Regions from separate parts of the Homo sapiens genome. Here region 1 is linked to region 2. The links are contacts of gene promoters, found by promoter capture Hi-C in human tissues and cell types (Jung and others, 2019). All regions are on one chromosome and are shown on one strand. The core of a region is centred on a gene start or on the middle of the fragment in contact, and the rest is flanking DNA. Distances in the headings are between cores, read along the strand shown. Region 1 overlaps ZNF44 (zinc finger protein 44). Region 2 holds the start of ZNF136 (zinc finger protein 136).

Region 1 (4,316 bases), core at 1,659-4,158, 110 kb after region 2:
CCACATCACACCTGTAAAAAATGAAAAGTACATTACTAAAGGTTTATTATTGAATTTATATTTATCAACAGGTATTAGATTTACATTTTTAACATTATCAGGCAAGCTATAAGCTTCATGTCCTGCTTCAATGTGAATGGACTGAATGTTGTGCAAGATAACTCAATCCCAGCTATTTTCAAGACAATGATATGCACATGGGGATTCTTAATTCTTTTTTTTTTTTTTTTTTTTTTTTGAGATGGAGTCTCCCTCTGTCATCAGGCTGGAGTGCAGCTGGTGCTGTCTCGGCTTGCTGCAACCTCCGCCTCCCAGGTTCAAGTGATTCTCCTGCCTCAGCCTCCCAAGTAGCTGGGACTACAGGCATGCACCACCACACCCAGCTAATTTTTGTGTATTTTTAGTAGAGATGGGGTTTCACCATGTTGGCCAGGTTGGTCTCGATCTCCTGACCTCGTGGATCCACCCACCTCGGCCTCCCAAAGTGCTGGGATTACAGGCATAAGCCACTGCGCCTGGCCTTTTTTTTTTTTTTAAGACAGGGTCTTGCTCTGTCACTTAGGTTAGAGTGCACCAGTGCCATCACAGATCACTGCAGCCTCAAACTCCCAGGCTCAAGTGATCCTCCTGTCTCAGCCTCCCAAAGTGCTGGGATTGCGGGCATGAGCTACCACACCCAGCCTCATATGGGAAATCTTAATATTGTTTCCATGGGAACTACTTTGCAAACACTGAATAGCTATGTCACATTTAATAATATATTTATGTCACATTTAATAATATATTTTTATAGAGAAATTTTTCTAAGAATAAATAAATTTAAGCTGGGCTTGTTCATAATCTTTGCTTCTTTTTAAAAGTTCTTGTCATTCTCAGAAACACTGCAAGGACATCACCTGTCTCTTATAAGTACAAATTACCTTGGATTTCTCCTGAGATTTTGGTGCTGATCATCAATGTTCTGGTTTTCCCATTTCATTCCTAAAAGAGAGATCCAGAAAATTCACTATAAATTATTACAAAATGATACAAAAATTGTTAAGATTTTATGTACACTACAATCATGTATGATTCATTCATTGAACTATAGTTGACTCCTGAACAACACAGGTTTGAACTGCACAAGTCCATTTATATATAAATGTTCTTCAGTCTCTGCTACCCCTGAGACAGCAATATCAACCCCTCTTCTTAGTTAGCCTACTCAATGTGAAGATGAGGATGAAAACCTTCATGATGATCCATTTCAACTTAATGCAGAGTAAATATAGTTTTTCTTCCTTAAGATTTTCTTATTAATATTTACTTTCTCTAGGCCGGGCATAGTGGCTCATGCCTGTAATCCCAGCACTTTGGGAGGCCGAGGTGGGCAGATCACAAGGTCAGGAGATCGAGACCATCCTGGCTAACATGTTGAAACCCTGTCTCTACTAAAAATACAAAAAATTAGCTGGGCATGGTGGCGGGCGCCTGTAGTCCCAGCTACTCAGGAGGCTGAGGCAAGAATGGTGTGAACCCGGGAGGCGGAGCTTGTAGTGAGCCAAGATGGAGCCACTGCACTCCAGCCTGGGCGACAGAGCAAGACTCCATCTCAAAAAAAAAGAAAAAAAATTTACTTTCTCTAACTTACTTTATTCTGAGAATACAGTATGCAATACATATGACATATATGTGCTCGTCACTTGTTTATATGACTGATAAGGCTGCTGGTCAAAAGTAGGTTAAGCTGTGGCAGACAAAAGATTATATGAGGACATACAACAGGTTGGGGCCTGGCACTTCACCCTGTGTTGTTCAGGAATGAACTGTATCCCTTTTCCATATTTCAAATCACTGAACAGCATTGATGACCACAAAACAAATGTCTCTAATTGACCAAATGAAGACATGATGTCATCCATACCTATACAGTTCAGGTTCCTAATGGTTTCTCGCATCACATCTCTGTAGAGATTCTTCTGTGATGGACCCAGCAAAGCCCACTCCTCATGGGTGAAGTTCACAGCCACATCCTCAAAGGCCACTGAGTCCTGAAACATCCCATATGTCCAGAAAAGGAAGGTTGAAACTCACAGTACTGAGAACCTATACTCACCTTCATAAACTTCCCATGATGCTGTGGTTTCCAAGCATTTATTCAATGACGTGGTAAATCCACTCTTATTCTGTGTCTGCACTCACTGTCTGATGCTGGAATTCTGATGCTGGAATTGGGCTTGCTAAAATAACAGTTGAGTAGGAACATATCTCTTATTGGTGAATTATGCAAGTGAATCTTATTGCCTGGATTACTCCTAATGTCTGTTTCTACAGTGGGTCTGTAGTCCTTGTCATGACAAAGTCCTACCACCTACTGTGCAAAAGAGAGTTACAATTAGCAGTCCTGAGACGGCATATCCTTACAACTGCTTGTTCACAATGTTGAACCTTTCGTGGTGTCTAGACAATGTATTTAGGGGAGGGCCCCGTAAGCATAACTAATAAAGGGGGTGGAGTGTGCCTAAACTATTTGTGTAAAAATTATGGTATTTGCTTAACTCCTAACTTCCCTCTGAGAGTTTGGAATTGTATTACATCCTCAGCAGAGGAAGTGTACCCAATCAGCCACTGCTAGGTTTGAATGTCTTCCCCTCCAAAATGCAGGCTGAAACTGAATCTCCAATGTGGAAGTAATCAAAGGTAGTGGTTTAAGAGGTGAGTGGGTCTTGAGGGTTTGGAACACATGGATGGATTAATCCACTCATGTATGAATGGCTTAATAAATAAACTGGTTATCACAGATGAGGTTCTGGTGTCCTTATGAGAAGAGGAAGATACTTCAGCTAGACACTCAGCCCCCTCATCATGTAATGCCCTGTACCACCCAGGGACTCTACAGAGTCCCCATCAGCAAGAAGATTCCCACCAGATGCCCACTTTGACCTTACTTGATCTTCCCAGCTTTCAGAACTGCAAAAAATAAATATCATTTCTTATAGATTACCCCAGTTCTGGTATCCTGTTGTAAGTAACAAAAAAACAGTCTTATAGACTAAGACATACACAAAGAAACACTCTAGGCACAGGGTCCCTAATGTGCAACTCTGGTAGATGATATTTCATATTTTTGTTGTTGTTGTTTTTTCAATGTCTTACTTGGGGGATTTAGCCTATCCTACGTGATTACACAGAGAGAATATTTGGAAGCTGGTGACTGGTTCCCTGTAGATCAAATGTAGTTAAGTATGACAAAAGACTAATAAAAGAGATTTTACCAACTAAATAGAAAAAATTGTAACTTTCTACTGGGTAATGTCGAAGGAGAAAGAAAAGAAGAGGACAGACTGCAAATGTTCTTAGACAGAATTCAGTGTCAGCTTTCATGAATATCAATTATATTCCATAAATCTCAACAGCAGACATTTAATAATCAATAACATTACATAAACCAATTTTTATAGAAGTCATAAATGTCTAAAGATGCTTAAAAAAAACCTTCTCATCAAGAAAGTAGACAGCTTTACAAAAACAAACAGAAGATTTAAAACTGTAATTTTTCACATCCCATACTATTAACAGAGAGAAAAAGATACATAAACAGGAAAGTGAAAAATGATAGAAAAGCCTTGTATTGTTTTTTCTTTGGCCCCATCTCTGCCCATCTCATTGCCAGTCCTGAAGACAGCAGAGTTCCCAGTGTAGAACTCTGATCACCACAGAGTGTACAGATCACATTTTGTTTCCACATTATTGCCTTTGTATTTTTGAATCAGTCTGGGGACTAACCGAAGGTCTGAAACAAGGCTCTCTTTTCTATTTCATCTACAACAGAATCCAATCAGAGTCAAACTGGGCAGGAACTACTTTAAAATGTTGTAAAATACACAAAAAGTGTGCAACCACCTAGGACAACACAAGATGACTAAGACATACATTAGAAGGCCAGGTGTGGTGGCTCACACCTGTAATCCCAGTACTTTGGGAGGCCAAGGTGTTGGGAACAGGCCCCCAAATCTAGCCATAAACAAAATCTCTGCAGCACTGTGACATGCTCGTGATGGCTATGACGCACATGCTGAAGGTTGTTGGTTTACCGGAATGAGGGCAAGGAACACCTGGCCCACCCAGGGTGGAAAACTGCTTAAGGCGTTCCTGAACCACAAACAATAGCATGGGCCATCTGTGCCTTAAGGACAAGTTCCTGCTGCAGATAACTAGCCAGAGCCCTTCCCTTTGTTTCCCGTAAGGAAGGCTTTTAGTTAGTCTATAATCTATAGAAACAACGCTTATCACTGGCTTACTGTCAATAAATATGTGGGTAAAACTCTGTTTGTGGC
Region 2 (4,353 bases), core at 1,291-3,790:
CACTGCCACGCCCAGCTAATTTTTTGTATTTTAGTAGAGACAGAGTTTCACCGTGTTGCTCTTGTTGCCCAGGCTGGAGTGCAATGGTGTGATCTCAGCTCACGGCAACTTCCGCCTCCCAGGTTCAAGCGATTCTCCTGCCTCAGCCTCCTGAGTAGCTGGGATTACAGGCACGCGCCACCACGCCTGGCTAATTTTGTACTTTTAGAGACGAGGTTTCTCCATGTTGGTCAGGCTGGTCTCGAACTCCTAACCTTAGGTGATCCGCCCGCCTCGCCCTCCCAAAGTGCTGAGATTACAGGCGTGAGCCACCGCGCCCGACCTTCATTAGTGGTTTTATATAACAGTTTGTTAATGTCGAAATAATAGTTTGCTGGCTTCTTCATTTTATCAAAGGAATAATTATTTGCCAGTTTTAAAATCCACTTAAAACTGTCTTGAAATTTTTCTCTTCTACTTTACGGTAAACACAGGAGGAAAGCAGGGACTCTGCTGGATTCTCTTTCGAACACTGGGATTGAGGGTGTTTGCCTCGTGGAACTGAACAATGTGGGTGAAAAGCAGGTGGAAAACTTGCAGGGGGCAGCATAGCCTGAGGCCGGTGATCCACACTGAGACTAATCTGGAGCCTGCAAAGGGAGGGAAAGGGAGCTCCCCCGATTGCTTCCTGGGCAGCCTGCCTTCCCCTGTAGGTAGTCTCCAGCTGCTCCGAACAGCTCCAGCTCCAGCTCCAGGAGTGTGGATTCTGAGAAGCTGCAGAGCCCTGGAAAGCAGGAACTTCACAGGCAAATGCACGTGCGGGTTTCTCTCCTTTCTGAGGTTGTACCTCTAGTTTCCCAAGGTAGTTTTCCGGAAAACTTTTTGTTTTTTGAGACGGAGTCTTGCTCTGTCACCCAGGCTGGAGTGCAGTGGCGCGATCTCGGCTCACTGGAACCTCTACCTCCCGGGTTCAAGCGATTCTTGTGCCTCAGCCTCCCCAGAAGCTGGGATTATAGGCGCCCGGCTAATTTTTGTAATTTTAGTAGAGACGGGGTTTCGCCATCTTGGCCAGGCTGGTTTTGAACTCCTGACCTCAAGTGATCCGCCCGCCTCGGCCTCTCAAAGTGTTGGGGATTACAGGCATGAACCACTGTGCCCGGCCTTGATTTTTCTATGTATAGAGTTGCTGCAGTCAGGCTGTAATTTGTATATATGAAGAAAATATGTAAAGATCATATTTAGAGACTCATTTAGGTAGCGTTCCAGAGAAATGGTTTATGAGCTAGAGAGGTTGGAATTTCAAGGGGCCTAAATTGACCACAGGTGAGAGTTTTCTGCTGGTGTAAATTATTAAGGTATTGAAGGAGGGAGCGTTCCCACATTGTGATGCTGTGACAGGAGGGCATGTTGAGCTCCCAGAGTTAAATCCTTAGGTTTCCTGCCTCATCATCAGGGTCTAATGTACTCTGTGGCTCCACTTCAGCAGTCACTGACTCTTAAGCTTGGGAATATGTTCTACCTTCTGAATTCATCTTTTCCTTTTTAAATGTTCTGAAGTGCCCTGCTTATCTGAGCTAGTTCAAATTTTCGCTTTACTTCCCTTTTGATTTCTTTACAGATTACGGAAATAGAACTTGTTTTTCCATGTATTTAATAATTTTATTCACTTGTTGGCAGTTTTTTATTTTCTTGGGTGAAAATGAGTAGATTGATTTGGGAGGCGAAAGTGGGAGGTTCACTTGAGGCTAGGAGTTCAAGACCAGCCTGGACAACAAACGAAATCCCGTCTCTACAAAAAATTAAAGAATTTGCCGGGCTTGGTGGCATGTACCTGTAGTCTCTACTACTCAGGGGACTGAAGCGGAAGGTTCGCTTGAACCCAGGAGATGGAGGCTGCAGTGAGCTATGATCATGCCATTGCACTCTAACCTGGGTGGCAGAGCTAGACCCTGTCTCAAATAAATAAATAAAGTAATAAATAAGTAAATAAAGTAATAAATAAGTAAATAAAGTAAAAAATAGAGAGAGATAAAGAGGTATGGTATGAGAAAGCCTTGGGCACGCTTCCCATATCCTCATCCCAAATTTCCGATCCCTGGGAATATCACGCCCTTTCTTCTGTTCCAGTCCTGCCTGGAACTCCCTGCGCACACCTGTGACTCCTCATGCAAGAGGTAGATGAAGAAATGACCCACTGAGTACAGGAAGTATCTCCTTTGGTAAACCCGGATTAAGTTCTGCTAAAATGCAAGTATCTCCCATCTCCCCATCCCCCGCAGACCAAGTACAGTGAAGGGGACGAGGGGAAGAAGTCCACCCTGCGTTTGAGGGCTGGGGCCAAGACCCCTCATTCCCGCTTCACTCATCTATGCTTCACATCTCCTGTCATTCACATCTGTCAAGATGCAGGGGGCAGAGCCCGAAGCTGTACCCAATCAGGGGCACCGGGGAGGAGCTCTGCGATCGGTCCAATCAGGCGCGCCGTCGGGGACGCAGCTGCAGACGTTCAACCTTCTCGCGGGATTTTCATTTCTCGCGTCTGCCGTACTTGGTTTCGCTTCGCTAGTCCCAGAGGCCCAGAGTGGCTCGCCTGGAGTCTCTGTGGCGCGGTTTCCTGTACCTGCCTTGGGATCCGGAGGGAGGAAGCTGGGACACCCGGGAGTCAGGAAATGGTGAGTGTGTCGGGCCCTGCGTCCCGAGACAGGGAGGAGGGGCTGGTTGGACGACCGGAACTGGCTGTGGCGCGGCCCGGGCCTTCCCGTGGGCGACTCTGGGTCTGCGTACCGAGTCCCTCTGGCGCAGCTCAGCCCTTGGTACCCTCGGCCTCAGGGTGGGGCTGGGCCGGCAGCCGGGACCCCGGGCGTCCTCGTCCCGCCCTGTGCCGCGATTGCGGCCCCGGCCCCGAAGACCCAAGTCTCTTCAGATTGTGCGGGGCCCACGCGAGGGTCATGGGGTGGGGGAAATCCTGACTTGTGCGTGGAAGGAGCTGTGGTGTATGAGGTTCCCAGTTCCTTTTCTCTCCACAGAGGACACCCGTTTTTCCCTGAGTTTTCTAAGTGTATGGGATGCAGGGTCCCAAATCCTCACTCTGTCCCCCAGCCTGCTGTTTCCAGGGCTTGCAGTAAATCCCCAAATTTCCTGTTCTCTTTTCGCTTTTCCAAACGCCAACCTCTCCCCTTCCATTCACGACATTAGCAACCGTTTCTCCTATATTCTACATTTCAGATATTGTGCTTTCATTGTTTATTTTTCAACAAAGCAATGGATTACTCTTTCATCAAGGTTTGTTTTCTGTTCATAGCCTTGACACTCCGCTGTAAGAAACCTTTGTGCTTGTCCTTTTGTCTCCTCTATGCACAGATACCTCATCAGAATGTCTTTGAGTTGAGGTTCCCCTTTGGAATCTTTACAGGGTGATATGCCTTCAGCGCCCCCTCCTATTTATTTTTTCCTGGTTCTGGGTTTCAAAACTGTCTGGGGCTGACTCAAGCTGCCCACAGCTGCCAAGTCTCTTGGAGGATCTAGTGAATATTGGGTCTTGGGTGAGTCTTCCTAGAGGACAGTTGAAATAGAAGGCTGGGAGAATGCCCTGGGACTAGGATAAATCTAGCATACCCTGCTTCTAAATAGCCAACCTCTGGGGGCACTCAGCTTTTCCTCCCCCAACCCCAGTTTCCATCCTTTGGAGACACACTGGTGGTCAGCCAATCAGATGCTGGTATTGAGGATTGAGAAAAGAAAATTTTTTGTGTGTTTTGAAAGAGTCTCGCTCTGTCGCCTAGGCTGGAGTGCAGTGACGTGATCTCGGCTCACTGCAACCTCCATCTTCTGGGTTCAAGCGATTCTCCTGCCTCAGCCTCCCCTGTAGTTGGGACCACAGTTTTGCGCCACCACTCCCAGATAACTTTTTTTTTTTTTTTTTTTTTTTGAGACGGAGTCTCTCTGTCGCCCAAGCTGGAGTGCAGTGGCGTGATGTCGGCTCACTGCAACCTCTGCCTCCCGGATTCAAGCGATTCTCCTGCCTCAGCCTCCCCAGTACCTGGGACTACAGGCGCATGCCACCACGCCCGGCTAATTTTTTGTGTTTTTAGTAGAGACGGAGTTTCACCTTGTTAGCCAGGATGGTCTTGATCTCCTGACCTCGCGATCCGCCTGCCTTGGCCTCCCAGAGTGCTGGGATTACAGGCGTAACTGTACCCGGCCTCAAAAAAATAATTTTCGTCTGATAAATGTGGGTCCTTTTAAATGAACGGGCACATAGAGACATTCAAGTGATACAGCAATCACCTTCTAACTCCCTGAAGCTATGAATTCATCTTTTGAAACTGCTATTGCCACAAGTAGGTATAATCAACTTACTAATGCAACACGGGA

What was found. The method cuts DNA at HindIII sites, captures the fragments that hold promoters and counts their contacts. A contact is called where the count stands out against the background at its distance.
Region 1: a contact is called between a fragment that was not itself captured here and the fragment with the promoter of ZNF136 in region 2, in 4 of the 25 tissues and cell types used here (aorta, dorsolateral prefrontal cortex, lymphoblastoid cells and 1 more).

The regions. Positions count from the first base shown.
Region 1 is chr19:12,274,053-12,278,368 of GRCh38, forward strand. It overlaps ZNF44 (zinc finger protein 44), which reads right to left. Exons shown (of 4, transcript NM_016264.4): 2 at 1,904-2,030; 3 at 921-981; 4 at 1-11. Among named protein-coding and RNA genes, the nearest start is that of ZNF44, 19 kb to the right of the region's middle. The HindIII fragment of the contact is 9,813 bases long and covers 1-4,316 here.
Region 2 is chr19:12,160,556-12,164,908 of GRCh38, forward strand. It overlaps ZNF136 (zinc finger protein 136), which reads left to right and starts at 2,541. Exons shown (of 4, transcript NM_003437.5): 1 at 2,541-2,651. The coding sequence starts at 2,649. RefSeq lists enhancers at 2,382-2,471, 2,482-2,641. The HindIII fragment of the contact is 18,447 bases long and covers 1-4,353 here.